Regions from separate parts of the Homo sapiens genome. Here regions 1, 3, 4 and 5 are each linked to region 2. The links are contacts of gene promoters, found by promoter capture Hi-C in blood cells and fetal thymus (Javierre and others, 2016). All regions are on one chromosome and are shown on one strand. The core of a region is centred on a gene start or on the middle of the fragment in contact, and the rest is flanking DNA. Distances in the headings are between cores, read along the strand shown.

The links. The method cuts DNA at HindIII sites, captures the fragments that hold promoters and counts their contacts. A CHiCAGO score of 5 or more calls a contact.
Region 1: a contact is called between a fragment that was not itself captured here and the fragment with the promoter of TMEM71 in region 2, in 1 of 17 cell types (naive CD4 T cells). The highest score is 5.3, in naive CD4 T cells.
Region 3: a fragment that was not itself captured here is called in contact with the fragment with the promoter of TMEM71 in region 2 in 1 of 17 cell types (activated CD4 T cells); the score reaches 6.0 in activated CD4 T cells.
Region 4: a contact is called between a fragment that was not itself captured here and the fragment with the promoter of TMEM71 in region 2, in 7 of 17 cell types (activated CD4 T cells, total CD4 T cells, naive CD4 T cells and 4 more). The highest score is 7.4, in activated CD4 T cells.
Region 5: a contact is called between a fragment that was not itself captured here and the fragment with the promoter of TMEM71 in region 2, in 2 of 17 cell types (activated CD4 T cells and total CD8 T cells). The highest score is 8.4, in activated CD4 T cells.

The regions. Positions count from the first base shown.
Region 1 is chr8:133,578,015-133,580,714 of GRCh38, reverse strand. No RefSeq gene overlaps it. Among named protein-coding and RNA genes, the nearest start is that of ST3GAL1, 7.5 kb to the right of the region's middle. The HindIII fragment of the contact is 2,348 bases long and covers 110-2,457 here.
Region 2 is chr8:132,759,189-132,761,888 of GRCh38, reverse strand. It overlaps TMEM71 (transmembrane protein 71), which reads left to right and starts at 1,307. Exons shown (of 10, transcript NM_001382403.1): 1 at 1,307-1,413. The HindIII fragment of the contact is 4,740 bases long and covers 1-1,525 here.
Region 3 is chr8:133,537,039-133,539,738 of GRCh38, reverse strand. The region is part of intron 2 of ST3GAL1 (ST3 beta-galactoside alpha-2,3-sialyltransferase 1); the gene reads left to right. Among named protein-coding and RNA genes, the nearest start is that of ST3GAL1-DT, 32 kb to the left of the region's middle. The HindIII fragment of the contact is 2,210 bases long and covers 213-2,422 here.
Region 4 is chr8:133,306,657-133,309,356 of GRCh38, reverse strand. No RefSeq gene overlaps it. Among named protein-coding and RNA genes, the nearest start is that of NDRG1, 11 kb to the right of the region's middle. The HindIII fragment of the contact is 801 bases long and covers 919-1,719 here.
Region 5 is chr8:133,557,479-133,560,178 of GRCh38, reverse strand. The region is part of intron 1 of ST3GAL1 (ST3 beta-galactoside alpha-2,3-sialyltransferase 1); the gene reads left to right. Among named protein-coding and RNA genes, the nearest start is that of ST3GAL1-DT, 12 kb to the left of the region's middle. The HindIII fragment of the contact is 1,310 bases long and covers 767-2,076 here.

The sequences.
Region 1 (2,700 bases), core at 34-2,533, 820 kb before region 2:
GAGAAAATAAATTTCTGCTGTTTCTGGCCACACAGTTTGTAGTAGTTGGTTATGGCTATCCTAGGAAATGCATATATCTGGGCCAGCTGGACCTTATGGCAAGGAAGCTTAGGAACCATGATCCTTATGGATCTCGCAGCCCAGGACAGTGGGAGGCTCTGCAGAAGCAGTGAGGATTGCCAGGAGTCAGAGTTTCCTCACACCAGGCCCTGCATTAGCCCTCTGGACTTCTGTATATCTTGGGGGCTTCACCAGCCCAGCAAGATAGAGATCTATGTTGATTTTAAGAACATAACATATAAGTTAACCAGAGCTTCTGGGCCAAGCTATGCCTGCTAGTAGAGGGTTTGTAAAGAGGAGTATTAGAAGGAAACAAGTGAGAAACACACGTTGGGACCACACCGAGGGTCTTAACTGCTAGACTCAGAAATCTGGACTTACACCCCTAGGCAATGGGAAGCCACAAATGTTTTAAAGGGTTAGAGCTTGGAAATGACTTGAGGGAAGGAGAGGGGCTTCGGGACAATCAATCTAACTGTCGTTATCAAGGGTTTTGTTGCAAGTAACAGAACTATGACCTAAAGTGGAGTAAGCAAAAGAATTTTATTGACTCATGAAACAGAAAGTCCAGAACAGACTTCATGCATTAGTGTGATTACGACTCTGAACCTAATGTCTTTATTTGGCTTTCTTCATGGGCACAAAGATGCCTCCCAGAGCAACTGTGTTAAAAATGCTCTTTTGTTCATGTCCAGTTAGAAATAAGCTATATTCAGGGCTTACTCTTAGAAACTTTTTTCCTAGAAGACTCAATATATTTATCTCTTTATCTTGGTGGTCCAAGTAGGGATTAAAGCTATTCATTCATGAGCTGATTTTTGACAAAGAGATTAGGGTGGGCAGGATGGACTGAGACTAACCAGATGGCTTAGCATAGATTTCGGGTCTAAGACCATCAGGAGTGGCTTAATGACAGAGACACATTCCAAGAAAAGCGTCATTAGGCAATTTAATGGCTATGCAAACCTCACAGAGTTCACTGTAATACAGCCTCAGGCAGGACCTTCAGGATGTGTTCCAGGGAAAGGCACTGTTACCTTAGGGGATGGCAACTCCATGCAGGTTATTGCCCTTAAAGACCTTCCTGTGTTTCAAGATATGCAGTGAAAGACAGTGATATTGATGACTGACGCTGTGTGGGCCCAAGCTGATGTGAGTGTTTGTGTCTTAATTTTACCAAAAAAGTTGGAAAAGTAAATGAATAAATAATTTGTAAATAGAAAAAACTTGTGAAATAGGGATATAAAGAAAATATTTTTAGGCTGGGTGCAGTGGTTCATGCCTGTAATCCTAGCACTTTGGGAGGCTGAGGTGGGTGGATCACCTGAGGTCAAGAGTTCAAGGCCAGCCTGGCCAACATGGCGAAACCTCGACTTTACTAAAAATACAAAAATTAGCCTGGCCTGGTGGTGTGCACCTATAATGCCAGCTACTCGGGAGGCTGAGGCAGGAGAATCGCTTGAACCCGGGGAGCGGAGGTTGCAGTGAGCCAAGATGATGCCACTGCCATCCAGCCTGGGCAAAAGAGTGAAACTCCAATACCAAAAAAAAAAAAAAAAGAAAAGAAAATGAAAATATTTTTAGTGCAGCTGTTCAATGTGTTTGTATTTTAAGCTAAGTTTTATTACAAAAAAGTCAAAAAAGTTTAAAAAGTGTATAAAGTAAGAAAAGTAACAACAAGCTAGGGTTAATTTATTATTGAAGAAAAACACATTTTTATAAATTCAGTGTAGCCCAAGTGTAGTGTTCATAAAGTCTACAATAGTATACGGTAATGTCCTAGGCTTTCACATTCACTCACCACTCACTCACTGACTCAACCTAGAGCAACTTCCAGTAACGCATGCTCCACTTATGGTAAGTGGCCTATACAGGCATACCGTTTTTATCTTTTATACTGTTTTTCTATAGTACCTTTTCTATGTCTAGATATGTTTAGATACATACATACATACCTACCATGGAGTGACGATTGCCTACAGTATTCAGTACAATAACATGCTGTACAGGTTTGCAGCCTAAGAGGAATAGGCTAAACCATATAGCCCAGGTGTGCAGTAGGTTTTACCATCTATATTCGCATAAGTACACTATGATGCTGGCACAGGGATGAAATTGCCTAACAACACATTCCTCAGAACGTATCCCCATCACTAATAGACTCATAACTATGTCCATGGTGGTTTGCTTCATTTGTTTCTTTTTTCTTTTTCTTTTTTTTTTTTTTTTTTTTTTTTTTGTGCTTTGAAGCTCCAGCTCAAAGGGTTTTTTGAATCCTGGTTTTGCTTGTAGGCAGATAATGCACCATGAACTTTCCTCTCTATTAGTGAAAACCTTTCAGTTTTGGGGTCCATGTTTTCAGACTTCTTAAGGAGCTTGTTGGAGACTGAAGAAGCTTCTGCTAAACCCATCACTGTGAGTATTCTTGGGAGTTCTTTTTTCCCTTCTCCTGCACTTTCTTTTTCTTTACCTCTTCTTCAGCTATGCACTCCTATTCCAGTTCCAACAGCAACCCATTAGTCAATTCCTCAGGAACCCCCTCTAGGAATTACTCAATGTCATCCACATCCACACCCAGGTTAAAGTAGTTTGCCATCTCAACCACAGCCTTCTTGATTTTTGCAACTTCCTCATCCTTGG
Region 2 (2,700 bases), core at 58-2,557:
CTGGCTGTTGGATGGAGCATCAGACCCTTACTGGCTTTTGAGACCACTCTTGATTCCTTGACACATGGGCTTCTCCACCATGGCAGCTTGCTTCATCAAAGCAGGCAAGCAAGAAAGTAATAGAGTCCAACAAGATGGAAGCCTCATCATGGTAGTGGAAACTCAGCACCTTTGCCTTACTTTATTTACAAGGAGCATGTCAGCAGCCTCAGTCTACACTCAAGGGATGGAGAATAGACATGAAGTTCCAGAGACAGAGAACTTTGAAATTAGATGGGCCCTCCTCCTGACAGTTCCTGCTGCCTAGAACATGTTCTACAGAAGATCCTGCCATGTGGCAGAACCTCAGGGGGAAAGGGAACCCCAGGAAAGGATGAGATTAACTTTTCCGCCAGCCGGACCAACTGGTGCCTCAGAAGAGAACTTGATTTAAGAAAACAAATAAAGAATACACCTTGCACATCTGTGCTGAGGACTCGATTATTTCTCATTTCTTTTATTTCATTTAATTCTTCAAGCCATCATATGACATATATATTTTTATGTTTATAATTGAGAAAACTGCAACTCAGAGGGGTAAGTCACAAATCTGAGGTCACACAGCTAGGATGGTAGACAGGTTGAATTTCTGTCTTGTGACCCCAGAATCCGCACTCTTTCCACTATGCAGTGGTACCTCAATGTTGCTGGAATATATATTTGAATGTACATTTCTTTTATCACTTACAGTAGTACAGATGTGTATGAACCCATAAACACCATCAAGTCTTTGAGCTCTACTATAATGTAAATGTAAAATGCCATCTATAGAGTTTTTTGTGAAGTCCAACCTTCATTAGATAAACCTATTGCCTCTATAGAAATTTTCATAAGATCAAGCTCTTGCTATTTAATAGTATTCTGAATTTAATAGCATCAGTGCATTATCCTCAATAAATTTAAGTGATTTGGACAAAGATCACTACTCTGCACTACTTATAACTGAATGTGGCCATATGATGAGCAAGAAATGTCAGTTCGCTGAGTCTTTCTCACGTTCTCGCAGCCAAAGGTGACAAGTTAGCTCAGAAAACCACCCCTCCAGTGACCAGGGTGTAACCAGCTGGCCTGACACATGGGCTGCACATTCCCTGCTGCTGGCCCAGGAAACTCTCTGAAATCTTCAGCACACTCCTCAGTGTGAATGCCACTGATGTGAGCCCAACAGGAAGTGTGACCTCATTCTGCTTCTTTGCCTCTGGTTACGCAGGCTGTTTTCAAAAGAAAACAAGAGAAGTTGTAAGACTGACTTTCCCAAGAACTATACACTCATTTATACCAGGAAACAGACAAGAGAACAAGAGGCTGCCGAAGACAAAACTTCTCTGCAAGCACCTGTGCACAGCAATGTGCGTGGGCATCTGTGAGAAGAAGGTAGGGTGGGATTCCCTTTATTAAGAGACTTCTGCACCTGTTGACATTCAGACATTTTTCAGCCGAGGAACTGCTCAGTCCTCAATTTTTCCACTGTCAACCACAGGAAGCTTCGTATTTCAGTAATAATTTTGTCCTTTGTCAATTGGAAGAAGAGGCTGGGAACTCCCTTTGGAAGGAACACGTATGCACACATTATTTTTCAGAATAGATGTGTCGCTTTGATGGAACTGGCAGATTCTGTTTCTTGAAAAGTTTTAGATCTGTAACTGAAGGGCTTTTTTTTTTCCTACTGTTACTAATTTTCTATTGAATGTCAGTGTACTGCCTGTAGATTCTTCTAAGCACTTGTGAGATAGAGCAATAAGACCTTCTTTTGCTGCAGGATTTATAGGCTTAAAATTAAGCTTAATACTTGGGGAACACTAAAATAAGGTAATTTGGGCTGGGCATACCCGTACAATATTGATCAAAAATGAAAAGAACAAGTAACATACTAATATATTACATTACACTGGGATTATTTTATATCCCAAACAAATGAAATTTGTAAATGTGTGCTTTGATTTAGAAATCTTCCAAGGAAGGCCAGAAAGTTCTCCTGACATCTTTACAGGTCTCTATAAACCAGGTTTATATTTTCCTAATAGGGTTTATATATAATTTATTGAAATATTCAACTTGAAGCTGTAGAATTAGCCTGGTTTGATTGATTGAATTACAGCTACAAAAACAATCCATTACTAGTTCTCATGTTACAAAATGTGGCCATAAGTGGTGAATCAGAAAATAATTTACTCCTACCTTATAAAGCGATTAGGATAGTGATACTATATACAAAGTTTCATAGTCAACAGAAGTTGGTTCTATTTGATGAACAGTAAATGATCAAAGTTTGCATAATTTACATACTTTGATATGTTTTTAATTAGTAATTGAGAAATTAAATCATGTCTTCATGGGAACTAAGTTCTAAAATCTTCCCAATGGTATGCTATCTTTAGTGCAACATTACTTATGCTGTTTAGGAATGTCCAGGCTGATAAAAACTATTAAAATCACTCTCTGTGACTACCTGTCAATGGTTCAAGTTGTTGGGAAAAAGACAGACACCAATCTCCAAGCACTGTTTGAAACTTGATAATGAAGTTGACTTGTGTCAGATGATTAAAATACACGTAAGTTTGTTTTGGGGCTAAATGACTGTTAGAACCAGTCATTTTATTAAGATTTCTTAATCAAATACCTCACTTTCATTATTTTCTTTGGATTACAAATCAACCTTTT
Region 3 (2,700 bases), core at 68-2,567, 780 kb before region 2:
TTTTTATAGAGATGGTGTTTTGCTGTGCCACTCAGGCTGGTCTGGAACTACTGGGCTCAAGCAATTCCCCAGCCTCAGCCTCCTAAAGCGTTGGGATTTCAGGTATGAGCCACCATAACTGGCCGATGATAATAATTTAATGGGAGAAAAAGATCAATTAATAAATCGGTGGTATGTTTAGGTGCAGTTCTGGTTCTTTGGGTCCTGAAGCTTATACAATTTGGGAGTTTTCTTTAAGGAAAAATAATGCAAAGTTATGACTTTGAAATAAAATGCAAGCCCTAGATAAGTGGGGTGCAGCCCAGGGGCTGGAGCGTCAGCTTCCTGGACGTGCTCTGGTTCTTTGCCCGCTTTGTGAGCTGCAGTGTCAGCGAGAGTGCCTTCTCTTACCTGCTGCCTGCCGGGTGAGCTGGCCACAAGGGGAGTTGGCGGTGGGAATCCTGGTGCTCCATGGTACAGTGAATTTACTTGCCTTCTGGATCCTCTGAGTCCTTGTGCTTGGGCTCAGGGAACAGGGCGAAAGAACTTCGTTCTTCTTGGTTCTGCTGGGATTTTCGAAGGCACTTTCCTTGAAGTTCTGCGGGCTGACCTGTGATCCCACATCAGGGACTGCATTCTCAGGAATCAGCTGAGCTCAGGAGTCCTGGGGCTGGGGGAGTGTTTGTGAGCACTCTCGCAGGGCTGGCTGTGGCCCTTACGCCTTTGTAACAACCCCACACACATAGATTTCACCCCACAGCCTCCCTGGCAGCCAGCTGCTGTCATTTCCCTTTTTTACGGATGATGAAACCCAGGCACAGACTGGTTAAGTAACTTAACAGTCACACAGCTAATAAGTTGGGGGGCTGCGCTGTGAAGGCTTACAGCGTCTCCAGAGCCCAGTCCCCTTGCTGCCTCCCCATCATCCTCACTGCCTACTGCTTTTAAGCAATATGCTGGAAATACCTGCAATGTCAAGATTAGGAGATGAGCTACATCCAGTACAGCCGCAGAATGGAATAATATGCATTTGAGCCACACAAGGAGTTTTTAACCAGCATGGTGGAATGCTCTAATTTTTGGTGTGAAGGTGGGATGTCTAATTACATATGCACAGAGAAAGGAATGCCAAGTGCTAACAGTGCTTGGATTCCCTCAGCCTTTTGCATCCTCTCCTGGGCAGCTGTAACAGACTCACTCACACATGCATTCAATAGGTTTTATTTATTTATTTATTTATTTTTTGAGATGGAGTCTCGCTCTGTCGCCCAGGCTGGAGAGCAATGGTGCAATCTCAGCTCACTGCAACCTCCGCCTTCTGGGTTCAAGTGATTCTCCTGCCTCAGCCTCCCAAGTAGTTGGGATTACAGGCTCCCACCACCACACCTGGCTAATTTTTATATTTGTAGTAGAGATGGGGTTTCGCCATGTTGGCCAGGCCGATCTCGAACTCCTGACCTCAGGTGATCCCCCCACCTTGGCCTCCCAAAGTGATGGGATTACAGACATGAGCCACCATGCCCGGCCATTCAGTAGGTTTTAATTCAATGCCTTTGACATGCTGGGTACTTCGGATACAGCAGCAAAAAACAAAAACATGGTTTCTGCTGTCATGGAACTTAGTCTGGCCTGCTGTTTGCTCCTTCTGCCTATACTTTCTTCCTCCAGCTTTCACTAGAGAGATCTTTCGGAAGCCCTCCATGGTTCCGCAGTGCCCTCAAATGCAGCCCCTCCCTGCCCCTATTGTCTCATGTGTAAAATGGAGCAGAAGACGCACAGACCTTCCAGACCTCAGAGTGTAGCTCTTCTCAGTTGTTGGCTAGAGGCTTTGCAGTCACAACTCTCATCATTACCATCTTCTAGAAAGGTCAGGCACCGGACAGCTGAAACCATGGCAGCCGGCAACAGGAAGTGCCCTCCCTGGGTGCTCAAAGATCCAAGACAGCCGGGCCCTGTGTTTGTAGGAACAAGATTCCAGATGCCTCTGCTGCTTGCCAGCCTCGTGACCTTCATTCATGCAGGGCCTTGTTTTCTTGATTCAGTGGGGCCAATCCCGGCCCCCAGGGGAGATGGATGCTGCAGGGATGTGCAAGCTGTAGAGGGTTCCAGAGAATGGGCCTGGCGTTCTGCAAGCCTGGCACCCCTCCTGGATGCTTTTCTCCAGCCCTTGGAGCTTAGGCAGTGTAGTGTTAGGATGATTATTGGATTTCCTCCACAGTTCCTGGCTCATTCTTTTGTAGCCCTTGTTACAGCCTTTTGTGATAATATTGGGTGTGGCAGGCCTCAGGACACAGGATGTCTCCAACTTTCTCCTGCCTTCCTTCCCCTGCCCTAACACAGGACTCTAATCTTTCCCTGACTTTCTGACTGTGGGTCTTGAGATCCTCCCCAGAGAGGGTCCTACCCTGTACCCTGGGAGAAGGAATGCTGATGTCAGGAAGCTTCCATAAAACCCCAGAAGACTGGGTTGGAAGAGCTTCCAGATAGCTGAGCACTGGAGGTTCCTGGAGGGTAGCATGCCCCTTCCCCCATACCTCCCCCCACGCATCTCTCTATCTGTATCCTTTGCACCAGTAAATATGTTTTCCTGAGTTCTGTGAGCCCTTCCAGCAAATTAATTGAGCCCAGAAAGGGGGTCATGGGAACCCAATTTGAAGCCAGTTGGTCAGAAGTTGCAGAGACCCGGACTTGAGGCTTGTGTTTGGGGTAGGAGTTGGGGGC
Region 4 (2,700 bases), core at 70-2,569, 550 kb before region 2:
TGATCTTATTTGAAAATGACCCAGATGCTTAATGAGTATTTATTTCTTAATTTAATATAATTTTGAGATTTAAAGTTACCAAAAAGATTTTTTGAAACTATGAAGAGTTTATAAACATTTGTGCCATTTACGTTTACCTAATTTATTTATTTTTCACAATTATACTTAGATTATTTATGAAACCTGAGATATTAGACAAGGCTAGTCATTATCGTAAGCTATTATTTTGTTAACCATTTTTATAGCCTGTGAATAAATCAGGCGTTTATCACCCAAGTAAGGACCTTAAAGTTAAATATTTGAGCATTTTGTGGATAACTTCAAAACTATAGCTGTTTTCATTAAATCAATAATATTAAATTAGTTTTAATTACCAAAGACTTACATAAACAAAGATCATTCTCTTTTTAGGCTGGGTTTATCGTTTTATGACCTTAGTGTTAAACCTTGCCTGACATGTTAAAGCATCTAGCAAAGACAAATATAAAATGATCTGATCACTAAACCCAGGGAAAAACATATGTTGGCAATTCTGAAGACATTTCTATTTTTATTTTACCAACAATTTTAAAATTATTTTATTTACCAAAGATTTATCTAAGTTTTATGAACTTAAAACCGAGTTAGTATATTTTTGATGAAATACTTGATTTAAGTACTTAAGGTTTCAAGTCAATTAATTAATTAAGGCTTTGTAATATATTTTGGTAGAAAAATATACAAACAAAATGAAAACAGACAGACAACACAAATACACAAAAGCAGATTCTCTACCAGTAAAACACAGCAATATAAATTCACTGATTTATGCAAGGACAGTTGGATCCAAATGATATTTCTGATAAACTGGAACCTGTTTTTCTGGCTACATTTTACTTTACTCCGTAGGTAATCTCACGAAGGCTGTGTACCAAAGCTTCAAGTAAAGAGGTTTTCATTGCAGTTTGCTTTTTAAAAACCTCTTTTTATCATTTTTTTTAGCTTAAATGAGTTCAGGGTTTAAATATTTAAATGTTTATATTTCAGTTATGACTGGCTAAATTGTACAAGGGAAAAATATCCAGGTGGCCTTGAATTTTAGCAACACATTTATCTTTTTGTTTATAGGTCTGGTTTGCTTGATTAGTTGATGTGGGCAGGGAACATTTTAGAGAAAGATGTTTATAGTTTCGGGGTTTTTTCCTTGGCTTTTGCTGGTGTATGTGTGGCAGACAAAGCAAAATTTTTACGCTGGATAGGGAAACCTTATATTATTGTTCTGATCTCAAGACTTTGACCTGTTTGATCTGAGAACATAACTTTTATAAACATGCTGTCTTGTTGTTTCTCTTTTAGATTATCAATCTTTTAATTAACTGTTCCATCACACTAAGTGATTATAGCTCAGTAAACCTAAATTTGCATTTCCAAAAGGGATGGCTCTTAGGTGTGCAAGGTTAGGTTGTTGGTTATCATGGAGCTGTTGTAATTTCAAAGCACTCTCTCGCTTTTAAAGTCTTGGCTGAAGTGCCCTAAGAAAAACCTTTTAGTGTTTTTGAAATTAACAACAGTAGATTATCTTAATAACAGTGAAAAAGAGAGCAGATTTAAAGCAATGGGAGAGGAGGTTAAAAAAAGGGAAATAAAGAGAGATAGATCAATTAAGAGCTTTTACGTGCTGGCATTTTATTTTAACCTTATAGTTGCAGTTTTAAAATTTGGTACCAAGGAAAACAAGCTTGGGGAGTTCTGATGATTCCTATGAGGGCCACTGATTTAAAAATGTGCATGAGGAAAAGCCATGTAGCTGGATGGAGTCCCAGAAAACTGGCATGCCTTAATATTTGAGAATCCCATTTCATTTCTTATTCTCTTGAGAGCAGAGTAAATCCTATAAATCCTGTCAGGGAATGTCAAGAGTTTAGACCAGTGTTTTAGATGATGGCAACCTCCCCAGTGGCTTTTAATTGGTCATCTCACATCCACCATTTAGAATGTTTATTTTTGTTCTCAGAAAACGCTCAGAAACAAGCATGGGGGAAAATAATCCAAATTATATATAGACATGCATAGCCAAACTAAAATAAACCAAAATCAAAGTGTTTACAAAAATCTTAAGCCAGGCACGCAGATCAAGCAAAATATTAAACCAGGTATGCAGAAGGAATCAATAGTGAATGCACCAGTAAAGGCATGCCTCACTAACAGAACATAAGTTCCATAGAAACCAGAAAAGTATACCCATCAGAAAGACAAGATCACTTTGTACTAGAAGGGACTTGTCAGAAAAAAACAAAAAAAATCTTATTTTTCCCAGGAGGAATGCAAGGTCTTTTATTTGAGTTGGGCTTGCCCAAATCAGGTCTCAAATAAAGTCAAAGAGCTTTTACCAAAAAAATGGAGTCTTGGCCTAAGAGAATGCTCACCAGGGATGAAAAGGTGAGCTGTGGAAGAAAAGAGCTCAAAGGACTCAGATGTGCTGACTGCACACCACTTCCAAGAATCACACACTTTCTCCAAAGATTATCGGGCTTCAAATCCCACTTCTGACACCAGTTACGTTATCCTAAATAATAGAGAGGGAGAATCTCTTAAAGAAAATTATATTTCTTTGAGAATAAACATTGCAATGGGAATACATGTGTAATACTAAACTATATTCATATTTAGGGAGGTTAAAAAAAAGCCAAAGACTTTTAAAGGAAAAATGAGGAGGACCAC
Region 5 (2,700 bases), core at 172-2,671, 800 kb before region 2:
AGGGTAATTTGCATATCTGTCACCTCAAACATTCATCATTTGTGTTGGGAACATTCAAAATCCTCTCTTCTAGCTATTTGAAAATATGAAAATATATTATAAATCCTTGTTTACTATAGCCACCCTGCAGTGCCACAGAACACTAGAACCTATTCCTCCTATCTGTAATTTTGTTTCCTTTAACTGCTCCACATCCGTCCCTGCATGGCTGCTTGCAAGAACTCATCTTTGTGGCTTGTTGTTATAAATTGAATTCGAAGAGCCCCAAGGTGCCTGGGGATTGAGGGAGGCGGTGAGCCACTTTGAGCCTGCCGGGGGGTTTGGAGAAAGGACTGAGCAGGAAGGCTGAGTGCAAAGTTTGCAATCAGGCGTGTAAACTTAGCCAGCTCCCTAGCTAGATGGGAGCCTCTTGGAGGCAACCTGCTTCACGTAAAAGGAATCGTCAGCGTCGCTGTTGCAACCTTGGAAAATTCCCTTTTAATAACATCTTCACAATGGAGAGAAAGGTTTGTTGTTCTTCTTCTTACTTGAAAACACTGTTAATCCTACCACCTGGTGGAGAGTTTGATGAATAAAGACCGTTGCTCAGGAAACATGTTAGCTGCCACGAATAGGAATGTCTTTGTGAGGTGTATTACTGGTTGTTTCTAAAACATAATCTTATGTTTTAAAATTCAGTCTTTTGGCAAAAAAAGGAAATTAAAATGAAAGGGAGAGATTAGGCAGACAGTACCATCGTTCTTTCTTTCACCACCTGATAGAAGCTTCAAATGGAAAACACACCTTTCAGAATGGGTTGAAGAACTGGTTCCAACCTAAGGTCTGCTGCTATTTTCTGTTTCTCCCTGCGACCTGGAACAAACTGAGCTCAGCAAACATGATCCTTGGACCACAGTAAGTCCTCATTTAATGACATCGATAGGTCCTTGGAAATTGTGAGTTTAAGGGAAACGACATAAAAAACTGATTTCACCATAGGGTAACTGATATAAACAAGAGTTAAGTATCTCTGATGTATTTCTGTTCATAAAAATATCACCAAACTTCTAAATGAAGGCCCCAAACAGCATCGCAGGTGGCCACAGCCTGTCCCAGTGGCTTAGGACGTGCACACATGCACACACACACACACACACACACACAAAACCACACTCTATCGCCCTGGGACCACATAAACACAGCAGTTCACCTGATATGCACAGCTTTTTGGGGTGTGGGAAACTGGAGTGCCTGGAGAAGACCCACGAGGACATGAGGAAAACTTGCAAACTCCACACACACAGTGGTCCCGGCCGGGAATCCGTATTCTTCTCATCAATGTTATAATGAAATGCTGTTGAATGAAACAGCATTATTGGAAGACCTGCGGCATAGGATTTTATACATTAAACTGACATTTATGCAATGTCAGAAATCCAAACAAGGAGAAAAAAATATACTGGCTGTGGAGACAGTTTTGAATATCAGAATACTTCTGCATTGTCAGGAACCTGCCCCGGATGGAGTAAAGGAGGTTTTCTCTTTTTCTCTGAGCCATGGTGTCATAAACTTTAGTCACCATTACTTGCGGGAGGACGGGGGCATGGTATGTTGGTTGAATAATTAGTTACAGAGGTTGCACACTTAAATAGTGTCAAAGAATTATAAAATCTTAGCATTTGCAAAGAGCCTTTGCAGTAACCTTGTTCAACCTTCTTCTATCTACTGAGTCTTTCATTGATTCCTTGATTTACTCATAAAAGTATTAGCTCTGCCACTGCCTAACTGCGTGTCCTTCAGCAAGTTGCTGAACCTCTCTGTACTTCCCTTTCCTCATCCATAAAATCTGGATAACAATGGTACCTACCTCCCAGGAGGTAATAAATAAGCATTCAATGAGTTAACACTTGGACCGTGCTCAGAAGAGTCCTTGTTAAAGATATGCTGTGGCAACACATCATCATCAATTACATTCTTGTTCCGCCTCCTTGAGCTGCATTTTTCACTACCTGTGGTAGGGAGCTCTGTGCCCCACACAGTGGTGTTTTGACCTCTGGGCAGCTTTGCGGTTTAGAAGGCTCTTTCTCATTCAAAGCTTCCAACCAGAGAGCGCTTCCTGGAGCAGATGGCAGAATGGTGCTCTTAGGAGCTATCTGAATTTAAGGATGGGAAAGTTGTCTGGGCTGTGAAGCTAGGGTATCATCACTGGACATCAGAGGCACAAGAGACATACCTAAGATTTTAGCCATGAGGGGGACCTCAAGACACTGGCCTCTTTTTTTTTTTTTTTTTTTTGAGACGGAGTCTCACTCTGTTGCCCAGGCTGGAGTGCAGTGGCATGATCTCAGCTCACTGCAACCTCCGCCTCCCAGATTCAAGCAATTCTCCTGCCTCAGCCTCCTGAGCTCACTGCAACCTCCACCTTCTGGATTCAAGCAATTCTTCCGCCTCAGCCTCCTAAGTAGCTGGGATTACAGGCACGCGCCACCACGCCTGGCTAATTTTTGTATTTTTAGTAGAGACAGGGTTTCACCATGTTGGTCAGGCTAGTCTCAAACTCTTGACCTCATGATCTGCCTGCCTTGGCCTCCCAAAGTGCTGGGATTACAGGTGTGAGTCAGACCACGGCCTCTTTATTTTACAGCCGAGAGGACAGCACAGACAGGGCCTGGCTGGTGCGACAGCTCAACCCATCATCAGGCAGAACCTGGATAGGAGGCC